Linked DNA regions of Homo sapiens: regions 1 and 2 are each linked to region 3. Evidence: promoter capture Hi-C in 16 types of primary human blood cells and fetal thymus (Javierre and others, 2016). All regions are on one chromosome and are shown on one strand. The core of a region is centred on a gene start or on the middle of the fragment in contact, and the rest is flanking DNA. Distances in the headings are between cores, read along the strand shown.

Region 1 (4,116 bases), core at 1,237-3,736, 220 kb after region 3:
CTCTTGACCTCGTGATCTGCCCGCTTCAGCCTCCCAAAGTGCTGGGATTACAGGCGTGAGCCACTGTGCCCGGCCTAGAAAAAAAGAATTATTAACTAGTAAAAGGTGGGGAGACGTTTTTTGTTTTGTTTTGTTTTGTTTGTTTTTTGAGACGGAGTTTCACTCTTGTCACCCAGGCTGGAGTGCAATGGTGCAGTCTTGGCTCACTGCAACCTCCACCTCCCAGGTTCAAGTGATTCTCCTGCCTCAGCCTCCCAAGTAGCTGGGATTACAGGCGCCTGCCACCATGCCCAGCTAATTTTTGTATTTTTAGTAGAGACAGGGTTTCACATGTTGGCCAGGCTGGTCTCGAATTCCTGACCTCAGGTGATCTGCCCACCTCTACCTCCCAAAGTGCTGGGATTACAGGCATGAGCCACCACACCCAGCCAAGAGAGATTTCTTATAAGGAATTGGCTCATGGGATTATGGAGGCTCACAAATCCAAATCTGCAGTGTGGGCAGGCTGGAGACATAGGAGAGCTGACAGTGCAGTTCCAGTCCACAGAGTCTGCTGGAGAATCCCCTCAGGAAGGTTGCTCTTTGTGTTCTATTTGGGACTTGAGCTGATTGGATGAATCCCACCCATGTTATGGAAGGCAATCTGCTTTACCCAAAGCTCACAGATTTAAATGTTAATCTCATCAAAACACCCTCCAAGTTGACACACAAAATTGACTAGCACAGGTAATTATCTACTAAAATGGAAACAGGGCTCCAAAGAAAACAGGAATACAGCCAGGCATGGTGGCTCATGCCTGTAATCCCAGCACTTTGGGAGGCCGATGTGGGAGGATCACTTGAGCCCAGGAGTTTGAGACCAGCCTGGCCAACAAATTAGCCAGGCATGGTGGTGCATGCCTATCATCCCAGCTACTCAGGAGGCTGAGGCAGGAGGATCACCTGAGCCTGGGAGGTTGAGGCTGCCATGAGCCATGATTGCACTACTGCACTCCAGCCTGGGGGACAGAGTGAGACCCTCTCTTAAATACATAAATAAACAAACAGGAATAGCAAATGTAGCAAATGGCAAAGACAACAGGACCAGCTATTACCTTTAAGGTTGAAGGAGAGTACTCAAGGAAAGAAGAAACTTGCAAGAGGACTTCCTTTCCCATGCCCCACCAAAGACTGGGATTTAGACCTCTTCAGAGAGGATATGTCTGCCGCCTGCTGGATGGTGAAGTTCATTGAGGTGCCACAGGTGTGGGCTGGAAGATCTGTGGCCACCCACCAGGGTGCCAGCAAACTCACTGCAGGGTGGGCACCATTCCCCATGGAGCTGTACTGTAGGATGAAGAAGAAAGTTGCACTGAAGCCGGGCACGGTGGCTCAAGCCTGTAATCCTCGCACTTTGGGAGGCTGAGGCGGGTGGATTGCCTGAGGTCAGGAGTTCGAGACCAGCCTGGCCAACGTGGTGAAACCCCGCCTGTACTAAAAATACAAAAATTAGCCAGGCATGGTGGCGGGCTGAGACAGAAGAATTGCTTGAACCCCGGAGGCAGAGGTTGCAGTGAGCTGAGACCACGCTATTGCACTCCAGCCTAGGCAACGAGAGTGAAACTCTGTCTCAAAAACAAAAAAACAAAAAAAAACTTGGCCTGGCGCAGTGGCTCACGCCTGTAATCCCAGCACTGTGGGAGGCCGAGGTGGGCGGATCACATGTCAGGAAATCGAGACCATCCTGGCTAACACGGTGAAACCCCGTCTCTACTAAAAAATACAAAAAATTAGCCTGGCGTGTTGGCGTGAGAGCTGTAGTCCCAGCTACTTGGGAGGTTGAGGCAGGAGAATGGCGTGAACCCGGGAGGCGGAGCTTGCAGTGAGCCGAGATCGCGCCACTGCGCTCGAGCCTGGGCGACAGAGCGAGACTCCGTCTTTAAAAAAAAAAAAAAAAAAAAATTACACTGAAATCACTAAGCCCCTGCCTCTGCTATTGCAGTGTCCCTCTGGCGCCCTCTATTGACAGGGCCTAACATTGCTCTAGCTGGGAAAGAAGAAATGTTTATAGAGTCCAGCTGGTTGCACAAAGCAGGGCAAAAAAAGCTTAAGTTTGAAGTTAAGTGATGATAAATTGATAATTTGCATACATTTGAGGAATAAATGAATGTCTTCATCACCAAAACTGTAACTAACTAGGAGGATCATCGGTTATCTGAGATATTCAAGTGAGAAAAATATTTAAATTTAATAAAGAAAGATGTGGGACTCTTCATTGGAAGAAAAGGGGAAAATAGGCGGTTGGACAAACCGCTGGTGACCAGGGAGATAAAAGACTAATAGAAAGCAAAGAGGAGGGGCCTGGTGCGATGGCTTGCGCTTGTAATCTCAGCCCTTTGGGAGGCCAAGGCAGGAGATCGCTTGAGCTCAGGAGTTTGAAACCAGCCTGACCAACATGGCAAAACCCTATCTCTACAAAAAATACAAAAAATTAACCAGGCGTGGTGGTACGCACCTGTGGTCCCAGCTACTCGGGAGTACTACTTGAGCCTGGGAGACAGAGGTTGCAGTGAGCCAAGATCATGGCATTGCACTCCAGCCTGGGCGACAGAGTGAGACCCTCTCAAAAAAAAAAAAAAAAAAGCAAAGAGGAAACAAGAAGCTGGAACAGATACCTGTGAATTTGTACCAGCTCTTTAACAAATGTAATGATCTTACCCTCATCTTACTCATCTCAGAATTAGAAACTTATACTTTATATGTTTATTATTCCAGTGACTATAGTTCCCATACCACACTTCAAAACACATCATCTAACAATAACTGCAGTCATGCACCACATTTTGGTCAACAATAGACTGCATATACAACAGTGGTCTCTTAAGAATATAATGGAGCCGAAAGCTTCCTATTGCTTAGTGATGTTGTAGCTGCGGTAGCATCCTAGCACTGCGGTGACACTGGTGTAAACAAATCTGTGCTAACAGTCATACAAAATTCTAGAACACATAATTATGTACAGTGCAGAATACTTGATAATAAATGACTATGGGCTGGGCACAGTGGCTCACCCCTGTAATCCCAACACTTTGGGAGGCTGAGGTGGAAGGATCACGAGGTCAGGAGTTCAAGACCATCCTGGCCAACATGGTGAAACCCCATCTCTACAAAAAATACAAAATTAGCTGGGCATGGTGGCGCGCGCCTATAATCCCAGCTACTCGGGAGGCTGAGGCAGGAGAATCACTTTAACCTGGGAGACAGAAGCTGCAGTGAGCTGAGATCATGCCACTGCACTCTAGCCTGGGCAACAGAGCGAGACTCCATCTCAAAAAAAAAAAAAGTTACTGGTTTGTGTGTTTAAATACTATACTTTTCATCATTATTTTGGAATGTACTCCTTCTAGTTATATTTTTAAAAGTTTTCTGTAAAACAGCCTCAGGCAGGTCCTTCAGGCGGTATTCCAGAAGAAGATACCATGATCATAGGAGATGACAGCTCCACGCGTGTTATTGCCCCTGAAGACCTTCCAGTGGGACAAGATATATAGATAGAAAACAGTGATATTGGTAATCCTGACCTTGTGTAGGCCTAGTCTAGTCTAGTGTGTGTGTGTGTTGGTGTGTGTGTGTCTTAATTTTTCACAAAAAAAGTTTAAAAAGTAAAATTAGCCGGGTGAGGTGGCTCACGCCTGTAATCCCAGCGACTTTGAGAGGATGAGGTGGGCAAACTGCTTCAGCTCAGGAGTTCAAGACCAGCCTGGGCAACATGGCAAAACCCTGTCTCTACAAAAAGCCCAAAAATTAGCCAGTCATGGTGTTTCAAAAAAATTTTTTAAATAGGAAAATGCTTATAGAATAAGGATATAAAGAAAGAAAATATTTTTGTACCGCTGTAGAATGTGTGTTTTAAGCTAAGTGTTATTACAAAAGAGTCAAGTGGGTTTTTTTGGTTTTTGTTTTTTATTTTGAGACAAGGTCTCCCTCTGTCACTCAGGCTGGAATGCAGTAGCTTGATCATGGCTCACTGCAGCCTCAAACTCCCAGGCCTAAGTGATCCTCCCCACTCAGCCTCCAGAGTAGCTGGGACTATGGGCGCTACCATGCCCAGCTTATTTTTTATTTTTTGTAGAGATG
Region 2 (4,536 bases), core at 482-2,981, 210 kb after region 3:
TTGTCTCAATGTCACTTCTGTGTCACTGCAGAGGTGCTTTGCTATTTAGTTGCATTTCCTCACCTTCTGAACAGGTAAGTAGAAACATATTTGAAAACCATTAGGTGTCTGGTGTGTTGGATGTACTCAGATTACTCTGCTAGCGCCCCCATTGAGAATTCCCCCAGAAAGACCTGGACATGGTTTTAGCCAAAGGTTTTATTTTAGCCTTAGTTAATTAAAACATGCAAAAGAGTTCCACAAACATATTCCTCAAGAGAGCACATCAGGTTGGTGATAAACTCTTTGTTGAGGCCGGGTGTGGTGGCTCACACCTATAATCTCAGCACTTTGGGAGGCCGAGGTGGGCGGATCACGAGGTCAGGAGGTTGAGACCAGCCTGGCCAACATGGTGAAACCCCATCTCTACTTAAAATACAAAAATTAGCTGGGCATGGTGGTGCGCGCCTGTAATCCCAGCTACTGGGGCAGCTGAACCAGGAGAATGGCTTGAACACAGGAGGTGGAGTTTGCAGTGAGCCAAGATCGTGCCACTGCACTCCAGCCTGGGTGACGGAGCAAGACTCCATTTCAAAAACAAAAACAAAAACAACAAACAAAAATAACCTCTTTGTTGCAAGGAAGAGGTAATGAGAGTTTTGTCCCTCACCTTCATTCTCCTAGCTTTGGGAGCACGTTTCTGTATGCTAGAGCTCCACCATTAACCAGTGCTAGTCTCTTAAACTCTGTCTCCCACCCCACCCAACCCCCATCCCTGTTTCCACCTATTCAGTTCAAATCTTGAGGAAGATAATCCATTCCTTTTTTTTTTTTTTTTTTTTTTTTTTTTTGGAGACGGAGTCTTGCTCTGTCACCCAGGCTGGAGTGCAATGATGCAATCTCGGCTCACTGCAACCTCCGCCTCCCAGGTTCAAGCAATTCTCTGCCTCAGCCTCCAGAGTAGCTGGGATTACAGGTGCCCGCCACCACGCCTGGCTAATTTTTGTATTTTTAGTAGGGACAGGGTTTCACCAGGTTGCCAGGCTGGTCTTGAACTCCTGACTTCGTGATCCAGCCTCATTGGCCTCCCAAAGTGCTGGGATTACAGGCATGAGCTACCGCACCTGGTCCCATTCCAATTTTAACAGTGCCTGCTAAGGGTAAAGTTTTTGCTCTAGGCTCTTGGAATGCAGTGGTGAGCAAAAAATTCACCAAGTCCCTGCTTTTATGGGATTTGCAGTCTAGTGGGGGAGACAGATGGTAATCAAATAAATGTATAATTTGAAAATTGGATAAGTCTGAAGGAAAGGTATGTCGTGTGATGAGAATATTGATGAAGTGGGGACCCGTCTCATGAGGGAGAGGGTTTGTGTAAGGAGGACTTCCTTGAGGAGGTTATCTTGACTGGAAATCTGGAGTAGGAATTAACAGGCAAGCGTGTGAGTGGTCAGGAGCATTCCAGATAGAAGGAGCAAAATGGTGCTTGGTAGATGGGAATATAGCCTGAAAGGCTGATGAGACTGGAGTGCAACGTGAGGGAGAGAGACAAGAGATAAGATGGGAGAGGGAGGCAGGGGTCAGACCATCAGGGCCTTGTCGGGCCAGGTTAAGAACTTTGGGAGCCATTAATGTGTTTTAAGCTGCATGGGGTGTGTGTGCTATGATGAGGTAAGCATTTTGAAAAGATGACTGTGGAAGATAAATTAGAGGGAAGGAAGAGTGGATCACAGTGGCCCAGCTAAGAGATGGTAGAATCTTGAACTAGAGTGGAGGTAGATAGAAGTGGGGAGATCAAGTGAGGTGGAGAGTTAAATATTAGAGATAATAGTTTGACTCTGAGAAATGAGGGAGAAGGAGGAGTCAAAGACAACTCCCAGCCTTTTGGAACTGGACAGATGGTGGTTCTGTTCACTGAGAGAGAGAGGACTAGAAGGGCAGGATTTTTAAAATTTTTAAATTAAAAAAAAATTCCTACTTGAACCCAGGAGGTGGAGGTTGCAGAGAGCTGAGATCATGCCACTGTACTCCGGCCTGGGCAACAGAGTGAGACTCCGTCTGAAAAAAAAAAAAAAAAGAAAAGAAAAAAGAAATTTCATCATCAAAGTCATATAGGTGGGATGGGAATTAAAACCATGGATATGCATAGAGAGAGAATATAAAATGAGAAGCAAAGAAGGCTTAGGACCAAACATTGAGCTACTTCCTCATCTAGTGGGTGGTTAGAGGAAGCTGAAATTGCAAATGAGTGTGAGAAGACTGGAGAGGAAGGAAGAGACCTGGGATAATGTGATGGCATAAAAACTAAAAGAAGAGTCCAGACACAGCGGCTCATACCTGTAATGCCAGCACTTTGGGAGGCTGAGGCAGGAGGTTGGCTTAAGGCCAGGAGTTCCAGACTAGCCTGGGCAACATAATGAGACCCGATCTCTACAAAAAAAATAAAATAAATTAGCTGGGCTTGGTTGTTTGTGCCTGTAGGCTTAGCTACTTAGGAGGCTGAGGTGGGAAGATCGCTTGAGTCCAAGAGCTTTAGGCTGCAGTGAGCCATGATGGCATCACTACTACTCCAGCCTGGGTGACAGAGCGAGAACCCAGCTATAAAAATAAGGAAAAAAGGAAGAATTGGGCAGTAGTGCTAAATATTGCTAAGAGAACAAATCTAAAAGAAAATGTCCATTACATTTAACAAGTTGGAGATCATTGACTTTAGAGAACATGATTAGGCTTAAAAGATGGGGTGGATTTCCAGATTAGAGGAATAAGTGGAGGATGAAGGAATAGAGATGATGAGAACAGACAATTCCTCTCAGAAACTGGTTTATAAAGGGGATGTTCCAGTTATTTTTACTGTGTAATAAACCAAACCAAACTTACTTAGTAGTAGAAAACTGAAGCTATTTTATTATGCTCCTGGATTCTGTGGGTCAGGTCACAGCAGGGGTGGCTTGTTTTTTTTTTTCCTGTTGTCTGGAGCCTTAGCTGGGAAGACTTAAATGACTGGGGGTAACTTGAACTACTGGGAACTGGAATCATCTGCAGGTTTCTTCGCTTAAAGGTTTGGCACCTGGGCTGGGATCACTTGAAGGTTGGCTCAGCTGAGATTTGTCATCTAGAGCACCTACCCATGACCTCTCTGTGGGGCTGGGGCTTCCTGCATCATGGCAGCTGGGTTCTGACAGAGTGTGTCCAAGACAGGTAGGAGGGAGCTGCATGACTTTTTCTGCCTATCTATGGAAGTTGTCCCAGCCTACTAAGATTCAAGCAGAAGGGGGACATAGTTGCTATCTCTAATGGAAAGAATGTCACAGAATTTGGGGTCATGTTTTAGAATTATTACAGGCAAAGAGAGATGGTGGTAGCTAGAAGGGGATATGTGTAAAAGAATTTTTGTTTGTTTGTTTGAGATAGCTGTCGCTCAGGCTGGAGTGCAATGGCATGAACACGGCTCACCGCAGCCTTGACCTCCTAGGCTCAAGCAATCTTCTTGCCTCAGCCTCCCAAGTAGCTGGGACTACAGGTGCACACCACAATGCCTAATTTTTTAATTTTATGTAGAGATGGGGATCTCCCTATGTTGCCCAGGCTTGTCCCAAACTCCTGGGCTCAAACGATCCTCCCACCCCAGCCTCCTGAAGTGCTGGGATTACAGGTGTGAGCCACCAAGCCGGGCCAGTAATTTATTATACAGCAATAGATCACTTATACAGATTGTGGTACCTAGAAGTGTTGCCATAACAGAAACCTGAAAATGTGACTTTAGAACTAGACAGTGGGTGGAAGGGCTTTGAGGTGTTAGTGAAAGCTTGAAGAATCTTCTAAAAAAATAGACAACTTATACCGGGTGCAGTGGCTCATGCCTGTAATCCCAGCACTTTGGGAGGCCAAGGTGGGTGGATCACTCGAGGTCAGGAGTTCCAGACCGGCCTGGCCAACATGGTGAAACCCCATCTCTACCAAAAATACAAAAATTAGCCGGGCATGGTGGCAGATGCCTGTAATCCCAGGTACTTGGGAGGCTGAGGCCGGAGAATCACTTGAACCCAGGAGGCAGAGGTTGCAGGGAGCTGAGATTGCGCCATTGCACTCCAGCCTTGGTGACAGAGTGAGACTCCGTTTAAAAAAAAAAAAGACAACTTCTAATGGTCTTTGAGGAAGATGCAAGTGAGGGCTTACAGAAAAATCTACAAATCTTATGGAAATCTGAAGCAAAGGGAGTCCTTGATAGGTATTGGTTGGGAGTCGGGGGGAAGCAACACAGTTGTCTGCAATAAGGTGAAAAGTAGAAAATATTTGAACTTGGTGATCTAGCTAAGGAAGTTGAACTTGGTGATCTAGCTATAAAGCTTCCCCCCAGAGTGTTGAAGGAAACAGGTGGTTTCTCCTTGCTGCTTGTAGTAAAATGTGAGAGGAGAGAGATAAGCTAAAGGAAGGACTGTTAGACAAAAGGAAGCCAAAGTTTTCTGGCTTGGAAAATTCCCAGGCTCTTAAGGTGGCAAATGATGATATGATTAAGAAATGACTTCTGAGCAAAGTTTAAATTTAGAGTAATGTCAGCAA
Region 3 (4,343 bases), core at 1,380-3,879:
TCAAATCAGTCACTCACTGTCCCTGAGCCTCAATTTTTTCATCTGCAAGTAAGATCTTGACATATTCAGACTAATCAATAAATGTCAGACTTCCTCTCTTCTTCTAAGTTTGTGCAGGGTAGTGAGGTCAGCAAGGGAATCATGGAAGACTGGTGCTCAAAACTCCATGACAAGCTCAGTTTTTCCATCTTAAAGTAGGAGAGTCAGATTAGAGGAATCAAGACCTGCCTCTCATAGGTCTTTGAGCCAGAGATTGGAATGGAGGAGATAATGACTTCCCCAGCAAAGATCCCTGACCTCCCAGGAATCTCCTGTGTATCCCTCCTCCCCACCTCTCCCAATCTCCATTCTGAACATTCTCCCTGAAAGAGTTAAGCCTTCTGCAGGCTTCCCGTTCCTGGCCAGCGTTGCCAGTGGAGATTAGTGGGATCAGATTTATTTCTCTTAATAAACAGAAAAGAAGTTGGGCCAGGCAGGTGACAAGGAAACAGTTGCAATAATAGGAGGCTGGAGTAAAAGGGAACAGGACTTCCTCCAGTCATACCCAGGGCCACCTCCAGACCTGGAGAAACAACAGCCAGGGGCAAGGAGGTGTTACCCATGCACGTGGGCTCAAATCAGGCCGACATGCTGCCCAGAAAGCCCAGAGCCACCTGATACCAAACACAAGGCAAGAGGGAGGCCTGGCCACTGACCCAATGAACCCAAACCCAGGCTGTTGGAGCAGTGACCTACAGGCTCAGCTTTTCCAGCCCCCTGCCTTCCAGGCTGGTCTCCCAGAGGAAAAAGGTCCATTGCCCTGGAGTATACACTGCTAGTCCACTAGCCTTCTGCCTGCCAATCCTGACAGTCTGACCACAATACATCCTGCTGCAATGCCCTCTTGAATGAGACGGGGATGACTTCAGACTGAATCCCAGTGGGGCAGCCCTGGGACAGACTCCATGTCCTGTTAGGACTGCAGAGGCTTTGGAAACACCCCTCACCCAAATCCAGTCCTCCCTCAGGGTTTGGCCCAGTCACCCCAGCCCCAGCACCCTCACTTCTATGTGTGGCTGTGCCGCAGGGAAGCAGGGCCCTTATCCAAAAGGAAGATCAAGCCGGATACAATCACACATGAGGCTTTCCACCCTCTTCCTGACCCCTAAAGTGTTCCTTCTAACTCTCCCAGAAGAGGTGGTTAAAGGACACTGGGAGGGTAAACACAGGCAGAATGGGATGGGCCCGCACACCCAGCCATTTCCTCACCTCCAGCACTGCAGCAGCAGTCTAGGAAAGGTGGACTTCCCAGGACAGCAAGCCCCAAGGGAGCTCCACCCTCTTGCAAAGACTCAAGCCCTCCCCATCAAAAGGAAGACAGAAACTGGAAAATGAGGGAAGGCCCAAGAAAGGAACTGAAAATGACCCCAGCAGGGATGGGCCAGGTCGGCTTCCCCGCCTTTCAGGCTGCCCGTCCAGGCCAGAGGAGGAGCCCAGGGACTCAAATTCAGAAAGACTGAGAATTAGCTGTTGAATTTTAAGTACCCACCCCAGCCCAGGTACAGCCTCTCCACTGAGCTTGGGCCTCAGTTTCCCCCATCTGTAAGCACACTTCCGACACTGGCATGTTTCTCCAGGGCTGGAAGAAGGAGTGATAGGGAGGGGCGGGTTGGTTCACCTTGGTGAGCTCACTACCCCAGGAGGTGATGTTTGTGGCCTGGCCCAGGTGAGCGTTGAGGGAGGCCAGGTGGGAAAAGCCAGCACTGTTAAGAAGCTAAGGCAGGGCACACTGTGCTCCATGTGAGGTCCTTTGTGGGGCTGGAAATCCAGATCCAGCTGGAGCTGAAACTCTTTGTGAGTGCGGTTGACCTTCCAGACCCAGAGGGTCCCCACCAGAGACCCAAGGCCACCTGTCTCTCCCATTGGCCACAGGCCAGCGTTAAGTCTCTGACCCCCTGACTCAGCAGAGGGCAGAACCTCGGTGAGCCTGGGGGAGGGGGAATCGCCTCACCGCCCTGGAGTCGGGCTACCAGCACTTCCTGCTCTGCCAGGGGATCCCTGCCCCAGCCGGGGGTCCCCTCCCCTCACAGCGGGGCAGGACTGGGTCTGGAAACTGCGGAAGGCAGCGCAGGGTGGAAGTGTTCGGACTCAGCCCTGGCCTCTTCGCTTTCCAGCACCAGCTCCTGGGGGTCACCCCCCTCCAACACGCCGCGCGCGGACCCCCGGCAGAGCCCCCTCGGCCGCACCCTCGACGCCCCCCCGCGCTCAGCCCAGGTGCCGACCGCCTTACCTCGGCCTTTGCCCTTGGCCCTCTTGGCCTTGTCCTCCGCCTTCTTGGCCCGGGGGGCGGCCGGTTCGGCGCCCTCGGCCCCCGCCGCCTTCTTCTTGCGCCGCTTGCCCCGCAGCCAGCTGAAGGCGCGGCGGAGGCCGGACGCGCCGGAGCGGGACTTCTTCCTGCGCGGGGGGCCGCCCGGGTTCCCCGGCTCCTCGGCCGCAGGTGCGGCGGGGGGCGCGCGGGCCGCCATGGCAGGCGGGGGCGGAGCGGGCGGCGGGTCAGGCCCCCTGCGGCGCGGTGCCCATGCCGGGGGCGGCCGCCGGGGACGCGCGCCCGGAGAAAAGTTTGGGCGGCGGAGGCCGAGCGGGCGCGGAGAGCGGACGGCGGGAGCGGCGCGGGAGGGGCCGGCCGAGCGGCGGGCGGGGCGCAGGCCGGCGGGGAGGGAAGGAGCGGGGCGGGAGCGGCCGCAGGGCGGGAGCGCCGCTGCCTGCGGCCCCTCCCCGCCTCCCCCGGTCCCGGCGGAGGGCGAGGTCCAGTCCCGAGAGGAGGGGGTCCCGGGAGCCCGGGGTCGTGCCCCCCGCTGGGGCCCGAGAGGGCGGGTCGTGGGGCCGCCCGGGAGGGGGCGGCACTGAGGTTCCGTCCCGCAGGGGGCACCGCGGGAGATCTGTTCGGAAGAGGGTGGTATGGGGTGGGGACGGAAAGGGGAAGGGCGCAGGAAAGGAGGAGCGAGAGGCTGGGGTTGGACCCCAGGAGACTTGGTATCCCAAGTTTGGGCTGGGAATAGACAGGGGATTCTGGAATATTTTTTCCTGGAATAAGGGAATTTGGAGAATTCCTTCCAAGCCCCGACAGTGTTGGGGCGCTTGCGCCAGGAATAGAGGCTTCAGACACGTCCAAGACCTGTGACCCGCAGTGGGCATTTCCCTCCCATCTGCTGACTGGGGTCGCCTCCTCGCTCTTTACCACACCTTCCAGGCTCCAACCATCTTCGGTGTGCAGCGGGGGCCCAGGTCCACTGTGTTCCTGCCTCACCCTTTGGTGGCAAGATGAGGATAGCCCTTCCTCCGTTTACCCTTGGACTAGGATTTGAGGCCCCAGGGCACTCCTGCCTGGACCAGGAGTTCCCACTGAGATGCTCAACACTAATTAGGGTTGAACTCTGGGCAGGTGAGAGGTGTGACTGGGAGGCTGGTAGGAAAGGAAACATTAAGAATCCTGAAATTGCTGTACTCATTGCCTACAGGCCTCTGGGTCTATTACAGCTGACCAAGCCCTTTTATATCATCTGATCCCACGACAACGGAAATGGAGGCCAGAAGGGGACAGAGGTGGTCAGCGGGAGAGGAGCCAAGATGGTCATCTGGGTTTTGTCTCAGGCTGGTCCAAGGCTTCAAACCCTAAGGACTAGAAATTGCGCTGGGGACCAGCTGTGGGTTCAGCACCCTTGAACCTCCTCCGTCAGTCCCCAGAAGGGCCTTGTGATGTCCATACCAGTGGGGTGGCCAGAATCACCCAATCTGACTCTGGTCACACGGCTTTCTCTTGGTCCTGGTCTCCACGAGGGCAGGGGCCCATTTGTCTGGGCCACCCAGCCCAGTCAGCCCCGGCGCACTGTAGATAGCACTCACCATAACATTGCAGGATTACTAGAGTGCAGTGGGATCTCCCTAACCTGCCTTAGCCCCCTGCATGTCCCCAGGGGCTCAGCTGTGGTGAACCTGGGACATCATTGACACTCTCCCACCTGGGGGCCCTGGGGCAGACCACCCAGTGTCCATGCTGGGCCTCAGTTTCTTGTCTAACCACCATTCATTCAGATCCAGCCCACAATCCCAGAGCACCCATTCTGGATCAGGAACCAGCCCTGTACTCTGGGTGCTCTTGGCCCAGCCTAGCACTCCTAAGAACCCAGCCTCTTCCTCTGTTAGTTGGTGAGGAAAGGGAATGTAGAGAATGCAGTTTTCAAGAGAAAAGTGTTACAGGTGCCAGGCATGGTGGCTCAGGCCTGTATTCCCAGCACTTTGGGAGGCCCAGGCAAATGGATCACCTGAGGTCAGGAGTTTAAGACCAGCCAGACCAACATGGTGAA

What was found. The method cuts DNA at HindIII sites, captures the fragments that hold promoters and counts their contacts. A CHiCAGO score of 5 or more calls a contact.
Region 1: a fragment that was not itself captured here is called in contact with the fragment with the promoter of NHSL3 in region 3 in 5 of 17 cell types (M0 macrophages, M2 macrophages, megakaryocytes and 2 more); the score reaches 8.4 in M0 macrophages.
Region 2: a fragment that was not itself captured here is called in contact with the fragment with the promoter of NHSL3 in region 3 in 1 of 17 cell types (M1 macrophages); the score reaches 5.3 in M1 macrophages.

What each region holds. Positions count from the first base shown.
Region 1 is chr1:32,518,486-32,522,601 of GRCh38, reverse strand. No RefSeq gene overlaps it. Among named protein-coding and RNA genes, the nearest start is that of ZBTB8A, 19 kb to the left of the region's middle. RefSeq lists enhancers at 1,203-1,322, 1,373-1,422. The HindIII fragment of the contact is 798 bases long and covers 2,088-2,885 here.
Region 2 is chr1:32,533,983-32,538,518 of GRCh38, reverse strand. No RefSeq gene overlaps it. Among named protein-coding and RNA genes, the nearest start is that of ZBTB8A, 3.2 kb to the left of the region's middle. The HindIII fragment of the contact is 4,105 bases long and covers 1-3,783 here.
Region 3 is chr1:32,740,116-32,744,458 of GRCh38, reverse strand. NHSL3 (NHS like 3) reads right to left here and starts at 2,629. Exons shown (of 7, transcript NM_020888.3): 1 at 2,270-2,629. The coding sequence starts at 2,504. The HindIII fragment of the contact is 20,286 bases long and covers 1-4,343 here.